Linked DNA regions of Homo sapiens: regions 2, 3, 4, 5, 6 and 7 are each linked to region 1. Evidence: promoter capture Hi-C in 16 types of primary human blood cells and fetal thymus (Javierre and others, 2016). All regions are on one chromosome and are shown on one strand. The core of a region is centred on a gene start or on the middle of the fragment in contact, and the rest is flanking DNA. Distances in the headings are between cores, read along the strand shown.

What was found. The method cuts DNA at HindIII sites, captures the fragments that hold promoters and counts their contacts. A CHiCAGO score of 5 or more calls a contact.
Region 2: a contact is called between a fragment that was not itself captured here and the fragment with the promoter of FNDC3B in region 1, in 1 of 17 cell types (neutrophils). The highest score is 5.5, in neutrophils.
Region 3: a contact is called between a fragment that was not itself captured here and the fragment with the promoter of FNDC3B in region 1, in 2 of 17 cell types (M2 macrophages and endothelial precursors). The highest score is 7.2, in M2 macrophages.
Region 4: a contact is called between a fragment that was not itself captured here and the fragment with the promoter of FNDC3B in region 1, in 1 of 17 cell types (M2 macrophages). The highest score is 5.3, in M2 macrophages.
Region 5: a fragment that was not itself captured here is called in contact with the fragment with the promoter of FNDC3B in region 1 in 2 of 17 cell types (M2 macrophages and M0 macrophages); the score reaches 6.5 in M2 macrophages.
Region 6: a fragment that was not itself captured here is called in contact with the fragment with the promoter of FNDC3B in region 1 in 1 of 17 cell types (neutrophils); the score reaches 5.5 in neutrophils.
Region 7: a contact is called between a fragment that was not itself captured here and the fragment with the promoter of FNDC3B in region 1, in 1 of 17 cell types (neutrophils). The highest score is 5.9, in neutrophils.

What each region holds. Positions count from the first base shown.
Region 1 is chr3:172,038,323-172,040,833 of GRCh38, forward strand. FNDC3B (fibronectin type III domain containing 3B) reads left to right here and starts at 1,256. Exons shown (of 26, transcript NM_022763.4): 1 at 1,256-1,449. RefSeq lists enhancers at 1,076-1,743, 1,744-2,410 and silencers at 1,329-1,508, 1,649-1,748, 1,929-2,178, 2,239-2,511. The HindIII fragment of the contact is 7,479 bases long and covers 1-2,511 here.
Region 2 is chr3:172,508,571-172,511,081 of GRCh38, forward strand. TNFSF10 (TNF superfamily member 10) reads right to left here. Exons shown (of 5, transcript NM_003810.4): 4 at 647-751. Among named protein-coding and RNA genes, the nearest start is that of TNFSF10, 14 kb to the right of the region's middle. The HindIII fragment of the contact is 3,718 bases long and covers 1-2,511 here.
Region 3 is chr3:171,659,050-171,661,560 of GRCh38, forward strand. PLD1 (phospholipase D1) reads right to left here. Exons shown (of 27, transcript NM_002662.5): 21 at 164-252. Among named protein-coding and RNA genes, the nearest start is that of PLD1, 150 kb to the right of the region's middle. The HindIII fragment of the contact is 171 bases long and covers 1,169-1,339 here.
Region 4 is chr3:171,676,842-171,679,352 of GRCh38, forward strand. PLD1 (phospholipase D1) reads right to left here. Exons shown (of 27, transcript NM_002662.5): 17 at 725-853. Among named protein-coding and RNA genes, the nearest start is that of PLD1, 130 kb to the right of the region's middle. The HindIII fragment of the contact is 624 bases long and covers 942-1,565 here.
Region 5 is chr3:171,696,815-171,699,325 of GRCh38, forward strand. All of the region lies in intron 12 of PLD1 (phospholipase D1), which reads right to left. Among named protein-coding and RNA genes, the nearest start is that of PLD1, 110 kb to the right of the region's middle. The HindIII fragment of the contact is 3,778 bases long and covers 1-2,511 here.
Region 6 is chr3:172,373,939-172,376,449 of GRCh38, forward strand. The region is part of intron 23 of FNDC3B (fibronectin type III domain containing 3B); the gene reads left to right. Among named protein-coding and RNA genes, the nearest start is that of GHSR, 73 kb to the right of the region's middle. The HindIII fragment of the contact is 5,833 bases long and covers 1-2,511 here.
Region 7 is chr3:172,357,676-172,360,186 of GRCh38, forward strand. All of the region lies in intron 22 of FNDC3B (fibronectin type III domain containing 3B), which reads left to right. Among named protein-coding and RNA genes, the nearest start is that of GHSR, 90 kb to the right of the region's middle. The HindIII fragment of the contact is 7,884 bases long and covers 1-2,511 here.

The sequences.
Region 1 (2,511 bases), core at 6-2,505:
TGACCTAGAATTGGAGTTATGTTATAGAAAGATGGCTTCAAGTTCCCCTTTGAGGAGCTCCACAGTAAATAAGCCATTTAGGAGAGAGGTCCCCATTTCTCTGGACTCACCATTGCCTCCAAAAAAAAAAAAAAAAGGCTAAAATCTCCCCAAAAGAATGGCAAATGAACAAGGGAAGGAAGGAGCTATTTCTTAGTGTTCTTTAGACTTTAACAGAGTATTATGTACTGCTATTATTATTTTTTAGGTTAACAAAAGTAATACATTGTCTCTAGTGACTCCCTGAATGCTCCTTTGTAGCTTAATAGTTGAGGCTGAATGTAGCTATTCAGAATACCTGGACAGCTATGGATGGAAGGGGCTTCTCTAGGCTAACTTTTGCTCTCTTGTCTCCTGAATAATCTGAGGGGTGGCATGGGATGCAGTCTGTTAACCTCTTAGAGCCTGTACAACAGAAATACATTACATTTGACTTAATATGAACTCAACAGTTATTTAATGAGTCCTATTGTGGTCCTTGCACTGTGCTATATTTTACGGATATAAAGATAAAAGTAAGAAACAGTCTTTGTCCCTGAGAAACGCATTGTGAAATAAGGCTGGGTGAGTTGGCTCACGCCTGTAATCTCAACACTTTGGGAGGCCAAGGCGGGAGAATCACTTGAGCGACAGAGTTCCAGACCAGCCTGGGCAACCTATTGAGACCCCCTCTCTTCCAAAAAAGGAAAAAAAAAAAAAAAAAAAAAGGGTGCGGTGGCTCATGCCTGCCCCGTGCCTGCAGTCCCCAAAACAAACAACAACAACAACAAAAAACAAAAAACAAAAAGAAAGAGGAAAGAGAGATTTTAACTTAAGTATAATAAAAATTGCTCATACTATGTTAGTTGTATGAATAAAATGCTGTGGGAAATGTGGGAGTAATATAGCTCACAAGGTTGCTGTGGGGGTTAACAACAACAAAAAGCGAAATATATGTGTAAATGAAAAAAAGTCAGTTTTAGGCTTAATTATCACTGAGTAAACATTGCCTTTATATTACTTTGGCGATCTGCAGAACGCGCAGCCCTCGCCATTCAGGAGTTGTTAGTTCCCTAAGCCTCAGGTTTCTTTAGTCTGGCTGAACCAAAAGGAGTTTCTGCTTAGCTAGGCAGGGCCGGGGGACAACAGCTTCTGCGAGTCTGCGATTGTGGCGGCCGGTATATTCGGCGGTTTACGGTAATGGGCGGGCCCCAAATCCCCATGTGGTCCCGACATCATTGACATGGCGGAATCCCCCATCAAACCCTCCTGGTAGTTATTTGAGCGGCGGCGGCGGCGGCTGGAGGAGGAGAGCGGCGGCGGCGGGAGCAGCGAAGGGGGCGGCAGGGATCCTCCAGGCTGCCGGCTGGGAAGGCGTGGGCGACCCGGTGTGTGGCGCGCCCAGAGCCCCGCGTTTCAGCCCTAGGGAAGGTAAGGCGTGCAAGAGCCGGGGACTAGAGGAGACCGGGACCCCGAGCGCGATCGCCGGGTCCCGGTGCACTGGAAAGCCCCGGCCTGACGCCGAGTCCGCCAAAGTGCGTCCCTGTCCCGGGAGCGCCCTGGGCTTCCCGGCAAAAACTTGGCGCCGGAGTGCTGGGGCGCCCCGTGCTCGCCTGGGCACCCCGGGAACACGGGACCCGGGAGGGGGCGGCCCCCGCCTTGCTGGGCTGGGGTCCCCCGCCTGTGCCCCCTGCCTCAGGGTTTGGAGGAGTGAAAGAAACGGGTAGATTCCTCTTAAAAAAAATTGGGCAGTGGCTCGCGGCCTCCCCCCACCCCCAGCCTTCCCAGCAGATTTTGTCCGAGGAATCCGCTCCCCCTCCCGGAATCTCCGCGGCAGGAACGCTGCCCAGGAGGGGGAGGGCGGGCGGCGAGGCCGAGGAATCTTCGACGTGTCACTTTCTGAGGCTGTAGATTTCCATATGGTGGAGGGAAGAGGGCGGGAGTGCGAAGTGGGGCTGGAAGTTGGGGCCGCCTCTCCGCGCCGGCGGGGGCGGTCGGGGGCCTCGAACCCGGGGATGCTCGCGGGGAGGGTCCCGAGCCCGCGCCGGCCTGGCCCCCCCGTCCCCGGCTGGGCCTCTCCGGGACACTCCCCGCCCCGCTGCTGGCCACCTCCGAGCACGCCACGTCCTCCTCCCCGTCCTGCCCCCCGGGCTCCCCCCGGGCTGGGGGCGGTAACCGGCGGCCGCGGCCGGACTTGGCGAGCCGGCGGCTGGAAGCTCGGGCGGGGGAGCGGGGCGCGGCGGGAAGGAGCGGGCGACCCGGTGTGTGGGCCAGCGGAGCTCCGGTCAGTCGGTCACCCCGAGGGGCGCCTCGGCCGGGGATAGGGCGGGCGGGCGGAATCTGCGCCCCGAGGCGGCCAGGAGGGGCCGCGCGGACCGTCTGGTGCCCGCGGCTGGGCTGGGGCCGGCAGGCGTGGGAAGGGCCTGTCACTCTCGGCAGAAAGTGGGGCCTCGGGCTGTGCCCGCGAACTTTCCCAGAGGTCCGGGTCCCGGC
Region 2 (2,511 bases), core at 1-2,500, 470 kb after region 1:
GTGCAGAGGGATGGAAGAAGTAATCATAAGAGAGAAAGGCTGGGTGCAGTGGCTCACACCTGTAATCCCAGCACTTTGGGAGGCCGAGGTGGGCGGATCACCTGAGGTCGGGAGTTCGAGACCAGCCTGACCAACATGGAGAAATCCCATCTCTACTAAAAATACAAAATTAGCCAGGCGTGGAGCTGCGTGCCTGTAATCCCAGCTACTTGGGAGGCTGAGGCAGGAGAATTGCTTGAACACTGGAGGCGGAGGTTGCAGTGAGCCGAGATGGTGCCATTGCACTCCAGCCTGGGCAACAAACGTGAAACTCTGTCTAAAAAAAAAAAGGAAAGAAAGAAAGAAAAAGAAAGAAAGAAAGAGCGAGAAATTACTCTAAAGAAGGAAAAAAAATGGGATCCTGAAAACTGCAAAGACAAAATTCTCCCACTTTGTAATTTTCCTGAGGCCAGTTATGTCGTGGCAATAATTGAGCTGTTTGTCTGTAATCTTGCATCTGAAAACAGTCAATCTGAGATCTGATTAATACTGAGCATTTTGTAGATAGCCATATAAACATTTCAGATAAAATTCTTTAAAAAATAAGTTACTTGGCACAATCCTTCCATTATTTTCCCTTAAGTCACTTATTTGTTGTTTCTCTTACTTGGAGAAGACAATGTGTTGCTTCTTCCTCTGGTCCCAGTTATGTGAGCTGCTACTCTCTGAGGACCTCTTTCTCTCACTAGGGGAGAAATATTTTGTTGCTTTTCTAAAAGAGAAATGATAAAGGGTCATCAACACTTGCCAAACTAGTTCTCCAATACCTTGCTCTTCATAGGTGTTGTCAATCAGCCATCGTAAGCATACTGGGCTTCCAAAGTTGATTCTATGAGTTTTCATAAAAATAACATTTTGATATTATGATCAACCTACCTCAGCTTATGATCAACTTGAAAAGTACTTTACACGGAAAGAATAAGCAGTAACATGGATTATAATTTATTAGTGTCTCACGGGTAGGGTCCAAAGAGAAACAAAGTGAAGATACAACAAAGTGAAGATTCTATCCCTTTTCCAAAAATATAAATAAAGAAATAGCTGTAGCTGTGTAATAATCCTGCTGAGTTAAATTGTGCAAATAACTACGTATTGGCAAATTTCCACCTTGAATTACATACAGAAATAAACAGAGTGGTACCAACAAACAGATGGTCAGGAGATTGAGACTATCCTGGCTAACACGGTGAAACCCCATCTCTACTAAAAATACAAAAAAATTAGCTGGGCATGGTGGCAGGCACCTATAGTCCCAACTACTCAGGAGGCTGAGGCAGGAGAATGGTGTGAATCCAGGAGGCGGAGCTTGCAGTGAGCAGAGATCTCACCATTGCACTCCAGCCTGGGCAACAGAGCAAGACTCCGTCAAAAAAAAAAAAAAAAAAAAGAAATGTAACAAATGACTTTCTCTAAAAGAATCAGTTCAAACTTCCCAAGTGTGCTTACATTGGTTGTAAGTAAATTATATTCTTTCATCAAACAGACAGTGCTAGGGTAAGGCACTACACCCCAGAGGGCTACAAATATTAATCACTGATTTCACTGACCATGTCCTCAAGGGACTTACAGCCTTCTACAGAAAATATGAATTAGAAAGTGACAATTTGGAGGCCAAGATGGGTGGATCACTTAGCCTGAGAGTTTGAGATTAGCCTGGGCAACATAGTGAAACCTTGTCTCTATAAAAAATAGAAAAATCAGCCAGGCGTGTTGGCCTGTGCCCGTAGTCCTACTATTCGGGAAGCTGAGGTGGGAGGATTGTTTGAGGCCAGGAAGTTGAGGCTGCAGTGAGCCATGATCGTACCACTGCACTCCAGCCTGGGCAACAGATTTGTTAAGGTCATTTCAAGGATATGGATAGGAAAGCCTAGATTTGAAAGCAAATTTTTAAAAGAGGAAATTTCCAACTGGTTATAGCAAACACCTCCCAAAAAAGAAACCTGCAAATATGTATATCGAGGTACCATGGATATATCTTGGTATACAGAGTTGTGTTTCACCTTACTGGGATGAATAACAAAGAATTTTATTCTTCCAACACTGAAAACAGTACATGCATCTATCTGCTGTAGACCATTAATCTGGTATGCCTCATCTGAATAGGTGGAGTGTTCAACATTCTCACTACTGCTTTCACCTTTGGAGAAATGATAAGAAAGAAGGCTTAGACCCCAGGAACAGGTCCTGTCCTTTATATTTAAGAAAACATATTTAATAAAGGAAAATGGGGGTGCCAAGTGATGAAGAAGTTTATTGCATTGGAAAAGAATAACAGATTTAAAAAAATAACTGAAAGGAAATGAACAAGGTACATGTGATAAAAATAACAGAGTGCAGGGAATTTACTTAGAAAGGTGTCCAGGGAAGCCCTCTCTGAAGAGGTGACAATTACGTGAGCTGTAAAGTACGATGGAGTGCCAGATGGAAAGCTAAAGAAGCCAGCCTGGGCAACAGTAGTGCACAGAGAGGTGG
Region 3 (2,511 bases), core at 4-2,503, 380 kb before region 1:
TTTAGCAACTGACTCAGACTAAAGGCATCAATAACCTATTGCTGGCTGAACCAAATTTAAGCTGCTAGGAAATGACAGTACTTTAAAAATGGGCTTTGCAAAGTCATTTTAGTAATAAATACAAGAACATCTGCAGCGAGAACTCTCAGCCAAAGGCTGTTACCTGTGAGCTTTCAGGATCCTCTGGGCAATGGCATCGCCTATCTTGTTGAACACAACTTTGTCATCAGCACAGCTTATGAAAAACTGGTTCTATGAGAAATAAACAAGACAATCATGTTAGTCTTTATTTTCTTAGCAATATACGTAAGAACAATACTGTAATATATTTTTTAAAATGTTTCACACAGCAGATGTGTTCTGATCACTGAAATCACATCAAGAAAGTCAACGACACAGAAAAAAAGCCGCCTCATCTCACTCAGGGTCTCATCTGATTCCAGGTCATATCACCTGTAACACTTAATCAAGTGGAAAGTTACACTATATTATTTCACCATGAGAATTCCTTATAGGTGATTTTCTAAATTACATTCTCAGAATACTTAGGAACACTGCAAATTTAATCAATGGGGAAACTAGTTTTTTTCAGATTCACATGTTGTATAAATGCTTATGATTAAAAATTCTATATTGGCAAACATTCTATCTCATGCTAAGCTTGCTTTTTTAACAGAGTAGATGGTAAAGCCTGGTCTAGTTTTCTCCACCCTTTCTCCATTATTTCCTGGTATCTGCTTTCACCTTGTCTTGTTTGTCTGGGTCTCTTATTATCTCTGAACTTCTATTTTAAGTAGCCTCAACTCTCTTTTGTATGTTGCATATATATAAGCCAGTTAATAAAATAAAAAATGTTTTTTTCCTCTAAGTACTTCTGCTATTTATATATCTACAAAATAGTCTTTAAAACTGTTACTAGAAAACAAGTTACAACATTATCATAACAATGCAAAATATTTTGTTGCTGCATAAAGGAATGTGAAAAATTTGGTGCAAATATTACTAATGTTATGTGTTCAAATAGAATAGATTGTTATAACACATCTGTAATTTATAAGGACAATTATCACAAAGTAATATTTGCTAATCATCTCAAGGTAAAGAGATATATATGTAACAACTCGTAATTATCATCCCTTTGTGGCATTATCATTTTTATGACTATATAAGCTTTTATACTTAAGTGCATAAATCTGTAAAATGCCTCCAGAAGACAAACTTACAGGAAGACACGGTGCAGAAAGTCTTTTGAGAATGTGATTCCCCTTAGGGCATCAGACAATCAAAATCTCATTGGCAACCAAACCATGTTTCTTTTTCTGAATTCATATTATAAAGAAGCTTAGCATGCCTCAGCAGCTGTAAACACAGACTGGCTACATGTCATGTCCTTTACTTCTCCTTTTTTGGAAGAGTCGGATGAATGCTGACTGCTTATCTTGACTAGAGGAGTGTCAACCAGGTCTATGTCCCAACTATGTATACCTACATGGCGTTACTGACATCATTTAATACTACTGTCACATTAAAAAGAAAAGCTGATTATTTTATTTTTTATTTTTTTTATTTTTTTGAGATGGAGTCTCACTTTTGTCACCAAGGCTTGAGTGCAATGGCATGATCTCGGCTCACTGCAACCTTCGCCTCCCAGGTTCAAGTGATTCTCCTGCCTCAGCCTCCCAAGTAGTTGGGATTACAGGTGCCCGCCACCATGCCCGGCTAATTTTTTTGTATTTTTAGTAGAGACGGGGTTTCACCATGTTGGCCAGGCTGGTCTCGAGCTGCTGACCTCAGGTGATCCACCCGCCTTGGCCCCCTCAAAGTGCTGGGATTACAGGCATGAGCCACCGTGCCCGGCCAGAAAAGCTGATGTTAATGCTACTAAAAAGAGATGAAGCAAAATGATTCTGGGCAATAGATGAGCCAGCCTTCACATCTTTCCATCTCTATGGTATAATTGTTTAAATTAATAATACTAATAGCATTACTAAGCTCCAGACTTTATGCAGAGTTCGCTCATTTTCCACTAATGTCCTATATCTATTCCATGATGCCATTCAGGATACCACACTGCATTTAGCCAGCTAATATATTATATTTAACTTAGGTTTCTCTAGCCAGGCTCATGAAACAAATAAAGCTCCAATTCTTCCCTGCTTGTCTCTAATGAATTGTTGCTGTGCAGAGCGGGAGAGGGCCAGGACCCAAGGGGAAGAAAAACAGGGCTAGAATGGTTTTCCTCAGTTAACCCATTCCCCTATCTACCTTTAAAAAATTCAATGGGAAAGAAAAGACTCAAATAAGGAAGGAAATTATGCTATGATTTATTTTTTCCATTATTGTGACTTTTTATTTTCTCAGGGTTTTTCAAGTTCTCTGAACTATTTTTATATTCACTTTGAAGAGTAATTTAAGTTCCCAAACTAAACTCAGTGTCCCCAGATTTTCTCATATGCTCTAAAAATTCTGGGATGAAAAAAAGCTTCCTAATCAATAGTAGTTCACACAGGA
Region 4 (2,511 bases), core at 4-2,503, 360 kb before region 1:
GTGCACCAGGCAAGGATCAGTCATTAACTTCAGTGTTGGGGCAAAGTCTCTCTGACTCCAACTATGAAACTAAAAGGAAACGTGGGTTAGTGCCCACTAGGTATATATTTCTTGGCTTGCATAGAACAACATTTTTATAATCAAGGGAAACAGATTTCACATTCAGGGACATAGTCTCCCAGGCACTTCCCCACATATGTTTCCGTTTCACTTAGGATTAGATAATCACTAGACATGGCAAGATGTGAGTTGGTACAAATTATCTAAGGCTGTGTATTTGATATTATATTTTTTATTTTTTATCCTGTTGAAACAATGGCAGGCAATGCCATCTCTATCTCCTCTTAAACATATAAACCCAGTGATAACCTGAAAATATGCCATTCTAACGCTGGAAATGCAGGAAATAAGCAGAATAGAAGATGATCAAAGGGAGCCTACCATTTCCTGAAAAATTACTGATTATTGCCCCCAAAATATGCCTATAAAAATCTGGATTTTTCAGACAGTTCAGCTCTATTTCATGTTCTTTTCTTATTATAACTGAAAAAAAAGTCCTTAAGCACATGCTAATGACTAAATCTAGTCTCCAAAGTTTTAAAAAATTTTCAAAAATCAACGGAAGCAAAACAAAAGGCATTTAGATCATGCACATGTATACTTGCTGAGATGTTCAAAGGTAAAAGACAAAATATAACCAGCACCCCACCATTATGATACTCACCAGCAAAAGGTTTATCAAGTTGAACCCAGTCTTTGAAGACGAAATTGCAGTAGTCCTTTCCATGCCAGAATCTGGTTTCCCCATGCAGCTCTCCCACACCTGTCTGTAAACTACGGATGGACCCGGTATCTGTGAATGCAGCAAGACCCCCTCAGAGACTGTGGTTCAGGTGAGTCCCAGAAAGGGAGGCTCAACTCTCATTTATTAAACACCTAAAAGCTTCTTAATTTCTTAAGACACAACTAGGGTGGCATCTGTCCATTCTATTACAGGCTGTGGGCTAACAAGGTTTTACAGTCCTTACAAGTTTACTTTTAGTGGGCAGTTAGGGCTACAACAAGATTCATCATTAAACAATGAAATTTGACCTTCTCAGGCAGTTGAGTAACTTATTTCCACCACCTACCAGATCACTGGAAGAACTATCACAGAATTAACTGTGAATAAAGAACTCACAAGGTGGCACTATGAGAGCAGTAAAGCTGGTGGGGGGCTTTCAGGGGCAGAGTGGGAAGGGCGGGGAGGGGAGAGGTGGAGAAACCTGAGACGCAGGGGCAATAAAGACACCATGCCACTTCTTTTTCCTCAACCAACATGGTGCACACCTGATGCATAATTCTTTTGCATTAAAGCAAGAACCTCAAATTTACAGATAGCCCATGTTCCAGCCCTGGAATTAATTAGCTAAGTGACACTGAGCTTCAGTTTTTTAGATCATAAATCCATTATGCGTAAAATGAAGAATTTGGCCTAGATAACAGCTAAAATCTGTTGCGCTTTAACATTTATATACTTCAAATCATAGATGGCATTTATAAAAAATATGGTAACAACAGATGAAAGCTTATGATATAGGTGCAAAAGCAGCAATCTACTATAGCATTTCACAAATAACTGTGCCGAGACCATTGACTTACGGCTAAATACAAAGACAATGAAGTAAAAAGATGCAGAATTACAAATCACAAACGCAGCACTTGGCACAAAAGAGGCATTTAACAAATAGACACTGAATGCAAAAATATGTGTTGAATGAATAAATGGTACTGCTTGCAGTAGCCAGTGAGAGGACTACACTGGTCCTGCCACCAACACACTGTCCCAGAACTGTCTTTGTAAAATGCACTCTTTGCTTAAAACCCTGGAAGGTTCACATACTGCCTATAGGAAGCTCAAGTCCTAAGGGCTTAGTGTGCATAGAAGACTCTTCCCAAACTGGTGCCAATCTATCTTTCTAGTCCTTGTTTTTCCCCACCCAACCCCAGGCCCCATGCAAATCACGTGTTTCACTGTATTATAACAGGTGTGGACTGCCATGTCTCCATGCAGTTGGCACATTATTACTTCTACCTGAAATGCTCCTTTCTCCCTCTTGGCCTGATATCCTAATCATCCTTCAAGAGCCACATTAGCTATCACCTGCCATCTCCCCATAAGGAAGAGGCAGTCACTAGCACTGCTGTCATCCCACTAACAACTGCCCCAACACCTCTGACTCTGTGACGCAATTGTATCAGGATGCTCCCCTGCCCGCATCAATGCCTCACCAGTCTATAAACTCTTTGGGAGTGGGAACCAAATCTTCTCACTGCCAGTAGCTCCAAGCACCCAGGCAATCAATAAATATTTGCAGAACAAATGTTTTTATGTAATCACCACACACAATGCTAATATTCTATCTCAAACTGAATCATTAACCTTTCAAAGGCTATTAAAGTTTTCTACAGAAGAAAAATGATTTAAAATGCCATAGATTAGCAAAATGAAATCATGTTAAAAATAGACTT
Region 5 (2,511 bases), core at 4-2,503, 340 kb before region 1:
TATTACTATTTCTTTAGGAAATTTTAAATATCGCTACCCACAGTTTAAAAATTACCAGCTCCAAGAAGTGGATGAAATGGAAATGAAGCACTGTTATCAGGCAATAACGTTTATTTGGCCATGGTGTTCACGAGGGACCTCGCCAGGGTTCAAGGGCCAAAAAAGTAAAGAGAAGTCACACTAGACACAGAAAAGGTAACCAGACAGGTATGCCAAGGGCAGTAAACAAGCGCATGCCAGCAAACAAGAGGTGGAAGCCAGGCCTGCAGGATCTTCCTCCTGAGCCCTACCGAGGCATTTACTAGCTTTCTCAAGTTAACTTAGATGTCTTGTAGACACTGTATCTTCAAGTGATCTAAACTTTAGCTTTCTGAATCAGCTCTTCCCAGTTTCTTCCACTATCAGAGTCACCTTCCGGACACCTTTTTTTTTTTTTTTTTTTTTTTTTGAAACAGAGTCTTGCTCTGTTGCCCAGGCTGGAGTGCAGTGGCACAATCTCGACTCACTGCAAGCTCCGCCTCCCGGGTTCACGCCATTCTCCTGCCTCAGCCTCCCGGGTAGCTGGGACTATAGGCGCCCGCCACCATGCCCGGCTAATTGTTTTGTATTTTTAGTAGAGACGGGGTCCGACACATTATTTTGATCAGACCACCCCTGCTTCCCCACACCGCCCTGCCCCGCACAGTACTGCCCCACTGTCTCCCATAAAGTCAAACCACTAGCTTGGCTCACAAAGCCTCTGCATCCCAGCTGCAACTAGCAGTTCCAGCTTAATCCCCCATCCGGCTATGCTAACACTCAGATGTGATGAACCACCCTACCGTGCCTGACAAAGTCTTTGGCACTGCTGTTTACATCTACTACACCTAGAAAGTTCTTCTTTCCCTTTTAAAAATGTTTGTCCATCCTAAATGCCCCACATCCTTCATGTTGTGTGGAGCTCCCCAACTGGACCTTTTCCATTGGGAAAGCCCAATGCTTTCCCTCTTGCCATTAAATCGGGGCATTGTTTCTGCATGCAACTGACACTTCTGCAGATTTTATAAGCTCCTTCAACTTAAGAATCATGGCTTTTATTTATGTACATCCTCATATGATTAGCCAAATGCCCTGCACATAGAAAACATTCAATAAATACATATTGATTGAAACCTAAAACAGTGAGGTGCTGATTAAATATTATAAGCAAAAATTTACTAGTATTAGTACAGATTGCTACGCAAGGCTGGAAAAATGTACTAAAATAGAATCTTGAGGGAAAATGGAAAAGATGCCATTTCATTGAGAGAAACATAGAGAAAGTTACTGCCCATTCAATAGGTAGAAAGTAGTCTGGTAAGGCTAGGACTGAGCCCAAGACATGAGTCCCTCAGCAAGTTCGCCACTGGCAAGGTTCAAATCTGATTCATGGTGGCATTCTTAGTGATTACCGTAGAAGCTGGCTCATAGGAGACAGTAACCGTATGATGAATTATTTAATAAATATGTGAATAATGTTTTCAGAATCAAAATGTCCAATTCTGTAACTGGAATTCTATTGATGAAACAAACTAGACTATCCATCAAAATGATGTTGTTTGGCAGAATGTGTTTCAAATAAATATTATCAATTTCTTTTGCTTTCAATATTAGCAGTGAGGTCTGACTATATTTGTGGATATCCCCAGAAATACTCAAGTAAATGCATGGGGAAAAGATACAGAAAGAAAAGGGGAAAGTGAATGGGGAAATAAAAAGTGGAATGCAGAGGATAGGAAAGAAGAAATGAGTGAAAGCTATGAGAAACAGAAAAATGCTAACCCCAATTATTTAGGCTCCACACGTTCTGCTAGCATGTTTAATGACAGAATAAAAAAAGGTTGGCCGGGAGCGGTGGCTCAAGCCTGTAATCCCAGCACTTTGGGAAGCCGAGGTGGGCAGATCACCTGAGGTCAGGAGTTCAAGACCAGCCTGGCCAATGTGGTGAAACCCCGTCTCTACTAAAAATACAAAAATACAAAAAAAAAAAAAAAAAAGCCAGGCATGGTGGTGGGCACTTGTAATCCCAGCTATTTGGGAGGCTGAGGCAGGAGAATTGCTTAAAGCTGGGAGGCAGAGGTTGCAGTGAGCCGAGACTGCACCATTGCACTCCAGCCTGGGCAACAAGAACAAAACCCCATCTCAAAAAAAAAAAAAAAAAAGGTTAAGACAGTTTCTGATAATAGCAAAAAGTTAGCACTTCCTAATTTGGACATGCTAAATAATAAATCCCAGATCTATTTTTAATTTAAACTGATTTAATTTTAAGGGCCTATTACATTAAAAAAATCACTAGAAATATGAATGCAGTCATTAGTGAGCCTAGGCTGCTTCAGTTATTTACTTTTTATACCTAAAAAGCACACATTCAATGTTCACCCAGAATGTACAGGGTCAACTCCACAGGAAACAGTTTCACATTTTTACCAGGAACTTTACCAAAACCAGAGAAAAAACACCACCAACTGTGACTATTCCTCCCCCTTTAATATT
Region 6 (2,511 bases), core at 7-2,506, 340 kb after region 1:
GGAACCAGACATTACTGTCAGCATGTACATTTCATGCTAGGGTTTACCAGAAAGAAACTTAGAATCAACAGTTATCTGAGGCCTGCTGTGTCAGAGCTTGGGGCTTTTATGTGAGCCGTCAAATTCAGACCTCACCAGTGTGTTCCAAGGAAGCGTCTCTGCCTGTACTTCACTGGCAGGACCCGCCTGAGGGAGAGTAAACAGCCTCACAGATGTAGTCCCACAGCTCATGTCTGAGGCCAACATGGCAGCCTGCTCTGCAGGGTTGCCTCTTACCATGCGGCTGACTTTCCACCTAGAAAAAAATCTGTGTTAGCAGTGATGTCCGTGGTCTCTCAGAACACACAGGGAGTCCTTTCTAAAAATTCTGTCTTCACAGCATTAAGATGATTATAACTAACACATATTGAGTTATTATATATCAGGATTAGCCTAAGCACTTTGATTTTATTTATTTACTTATTTTATTTATTATTTTGAGACAGAGTCTCGCTCTTGCCCAGGCCGGAGTACAGTGGCAGTCTTGGCTCACTGCAACCTCTGCCTACCGGATTCAAGCGATTCTCCTGCCTCAGCCTCCTGAGTAGCTGGGACTACAGGCACGCATCACCACGCCTGGCTAATTTTTGTGTTTTTAGTAGAGATGGGGTTTCACCATGCTGGCCAGGCTGGTCTCGAAATCCTGACCTTGTGATCCGCCCGCCTCGGCCTCCCAAAATGCTAGAATTACAGGCCTGAGCCACTGTGCCCGGCCAGCAGTTTTCTTTTATTAACCCATTTAAACCTCACAATATCTCTGAGGTTGGTTCCATCATTTCACTGATTGTACAGATGAGAAAACTGAGGCACGAAGAGGCTAAACTACTTGCTGGTGTTTCATAGTCTACAGAGCCAATTCCAGTCTCAGAAATTGCATTTACTGAGAGCCTACCAAGTACCCAGATCTTTAGGGGGTATAGAAGAAGTTTAACTAGAATCTATTTTCTTATGTATTTAATGAATTTTTTTGTTGTAGAGAGTAAAATGACATGAAATTGGAAATGACTGTGATAAATGATTTTCATAGTATAAAAATTGGTACCAAGTCTTTCTCATCCCTTTCATGTCATGGTTTCATTCTTGCAGTTCTCTTTCTATTCTTACCTCTTTTATTTCCTTAAGAAGAGGAAAGGGTAGGGAAAACCTTTAAAGTGAGGAAGGTGTCAGCTTTTTAATAATGTGCCAACTTGCTACCTCTGTCTTTAATGTCTCCCTGTGGCTCTTGGTCACACTTCAGAGTGAGATGACTGGAGAAAGTCTTCAGAAGGCATTAGCTATGATCATCTTGCATCATTGCTCAGCCCTTCTGACCTTGGGCCTGTGTGTTCATCTTAGGGCACAGGCCCCAAAAGGACAGGGTACATCAGTGTTTCTAGATGGCCCAATTGACACTTGATGCTTTCCTGCCTTGGGCTGTTTCACCCAAAGCTCTTAGGATTCCTTATGTCTCCCCTTCCCACCTTATACTTGTTTCACCCAGGAAAGAGCCTCTGTCATGCCCATCGTCTCCTTCCCTCCTGAAGGCTCAGTATCTGGTTAATTACATGACATAGGAATTACTTACCATCTATTTTGGCTATTTCCATACACATTCTGAGAACAAAATAAAAGAGCTCTTCTCCATGCCCCTCTCATAATTTCTTCCCATGCCCTTTTTTGGGGAAGGCAGGCCAGTCAAAGCAGTGATGGCTTTGATCAGAGCAACGAGCAGATCATGATTTATTATTGCCGGAGTAGACAGTGGGCTACATTAGAGGACTGCTTAGACGCATGCTTATTCTAGAAAAGGCTGAAGGAAGAAAGAACCACCCCTTTCCCTCCTCTTCTCAGCTCCCTTCTGCTGGGAGCACCTGGCTGCCAGTTCCCAAGTTCCTCTCCATGGGGAATTGCAGCTCCAAGGTGGCCTCCTGGAGCTGCCTAACTCCGCCTTCACTGAAAATAAGGTGATTGAACTGTAAAGCTGAAATCCTCTGCAGTCATGTCTCCTCCAGAGTCTTCAAGGTCACTCCCACTTTTTTTCTAGACACAAATGGGGTCATTTTTGTAATTCTAATTAACACTGTCTCCAGACATAAATAAAATTTTAAATTTCTCATTGCTATCAGCTGTTTCCACTATGTTTTTCATAAATTGGAATGCAATTTTAAACAGTTAATAAAATTCTCCAGTACAAGAGCAAAACAAGAAGTTAAAGGAACACAATAGTCTAGAAACAGAAGATTTTGATGTATTTTTAAATTGATATGTATGTTATCTGTTCTATTTAGATTACAAACTTAGAGTAATGAATTTGCTTCAGTAAATTTCTTTGTGACTGTGAGTGCTATTGCTTATATTATAATTGGGTCTGGGTCCAAATATATATTGAACTTATTTTCCAAAAGAAATACTCTCCTTAGATTGTGGCATGGCAGGAAAGCATACTGTTCCTAGTAGTCCTCTCCAAACTCCTTTAAAAACTGAGCTTTATGG
Region 7 (2,511 bases), core at 6-2,505, 320 kb after region 1:
CTTAATATTTTCCCCAGAATGCAACAAGACATCATTTCATTCCATTTTATCAGTTCCTCAGTTTTTTTTTTCAATTTTGAATGTTACATCATCATTAGAAATAATTAATGTTAGTTCAGTGCATCAGCTGTACACGTAAATGTTCACGTATTTTCGCTGAAACAAAATGTGTTTTTGTAAAAATGTAGGATAGGTTGAATTGAGTATTTTAGAATCTAGGTAGTTGATTTCAGGGCCAGATGCTGTTTAAATAATGTGAAGTAAACTTGTTGACTCTTCTAAATGCCTGCTTCCTTGGCAGACGGTCAATGTTGAACTGAAAGTGTGGTTTGAATTAAAAATGGTCATTTGGTAGGATTTGTAACCATATTTGGCCCCTGTTACGATATAAGAGTATGGTGTGCCAGACACACAGGCCTTTGCACCTAAAGGGAGTTCTGCTCACGCCTGGATCTAACATGTGTCTGACATGACCTAGCTGAGCTGCAGTTTCTTCAGTTGTAAAGCAGACAAAGTAGCTCCTACCTTATGGGGTCAGCATAGAAATCAGAGATGATATTGTAGATGTCAAACCTAGCTTTCAACCCCTAGTAGTCACTCTGTCATTTAGATCAAGTTATTTAACCTCTCTGCATTTAACTTTGATTTCCTCATCTCTAAAGGCAGATGTAATAGTAGTTCCCACTCTGTAGTGCATTTTCTGGAACAGAGCAAGTTCTCAATGTGTGTAGTGATGGTTGCCATTGTTGTTTTCTTCAGTTCCTGAGATCTTTGTCTCACTCTCACCTTGCTGCGGATGGCCTAGAAAGAAGCCCATCCTTTCAGCTGTTGCTGAGTCCTTGGCCATTACTTGGAGGAAGTGGGATCAGCAAGTTACTCATGTTGTAAAGTGAGGTGGTGTAATAGTGCAGCCGCAGTGAAGACCTGTCCCTGTGCCAGCACTGTTGGGATGGCGTGACACTCTCAAAGAAGTCATCAGGATAATGACTCCAAAAATTAACACTTGAAAATTTGCTAGTGCTTTTGGCTGCCTTGAATCCTCTCCTGATTTTACTGTGGAGTATAAAATATTAAAAATTGGAAAGTGCTTCTTACATCCCTTATCTTAGTTAGGTAATCTTCTTTGTAATTGCAGAAAAAAGTCACTGTCCCCAATTTATAGATAAGAAAGCTGTTACTTAAAAGTGTTCAATAATTTCCCCAAGGTCTCCAAATTGATGAGCAGGATTCCCAAAGAGGCTACACTGCTAAAGAGTGTTAAATGCTACCACAGTTTTCTTGGTGGTGGTGGTGGTGGTGGTGGTGGTGGTGGTGGTGGTGGTGGTGGTGGTGGTGGTGGTGGTGATGGTGGCGGTGGTGTGTGTTAAGGCTAGGATTATATGCCTAGGAGATACTCAGTGAAAGATTAGAGAACCCTAGAGCTAAAGATATAAAGAACCTAGTACTTACCAAAATACTAGGGAGGCTTTGAGGAAGGAAATGAATTTACAACAGAAGCCAAAAATCAAATCTAAATTTTTTTTATATCTTGATACTTGTATCTTCTAAACTATTTTTAAATTCTTATAAGTGATTTAAATCTCTTAGCATTTTTTTTCTTGAGTATAGAATAGAACAACAATCTTAAGGAACTCATTACCTCATTTTCTTTTGTGTATTAAAGTAGCTAAGAGCTATTCAGGTGGCACAGAGCAAAGGGTAGGATCACCTAGAATACAAGGTGAGCCAGCAGATGGCAGAAAGGATCTTGGCCTCTGGAATCTAGGAATGTTTGTACCTAGAGTAAAGGGAAGGAATGGTGGTTTGGACACTGGAAGGACCTTAATATAAACCTTGTAGGTGAGGAAATGTGTTACACTGTTGAAGAAAGACTAAAACTTAATGTCCGGCTTAATTTCCTTTTCCTGAGAAGGGAAAGAGGATAGTAATTTCTACCATCATGATGACTGCCTTTTTAAAAAGATTTTTCATTTCCAGTTGCCGAAAAATATGTTACATTCCAATCATAGAAAGAAACTCTTCTATTAATACCATAAAGCAATCTTATAAGACTCATATGGGAGGCAAGGAAGAGTTCTAATCTTTCAGTGTTATACCGAGAGACTTATATTGCTTTATCTACAAAAGACTTGATGCAGCCCCAGTGTAATAGAATCTGGGAAAAGTAAGGCCCTTTGTAATGGAGTTTTTGCTCTGCTTTATCAGAGATGAGTATTTACTACGTTCCAAACTATGAGGAGATATTTATCTAGTTTTAGGTGATTATAAGTAGAGCTGCTGTAAACATTTGTGTGCAGGTTTTTGTGTGAACATAAATATTAATTTTTCTAGAGTAAATAAATACCTGGGATTGGGATTGCTGGGTCATGTAATAAGTATATATTTAAAAGGCAACTGTTTTCCTATGTGGTGATGCCAGTTTTCATTATCACTAGTGAAATAGGAGAGTTCCAGTTGTACCTTATCCCTGCCAGCACTTTTTTAACATAATGGTATTACATTGCGAATTTA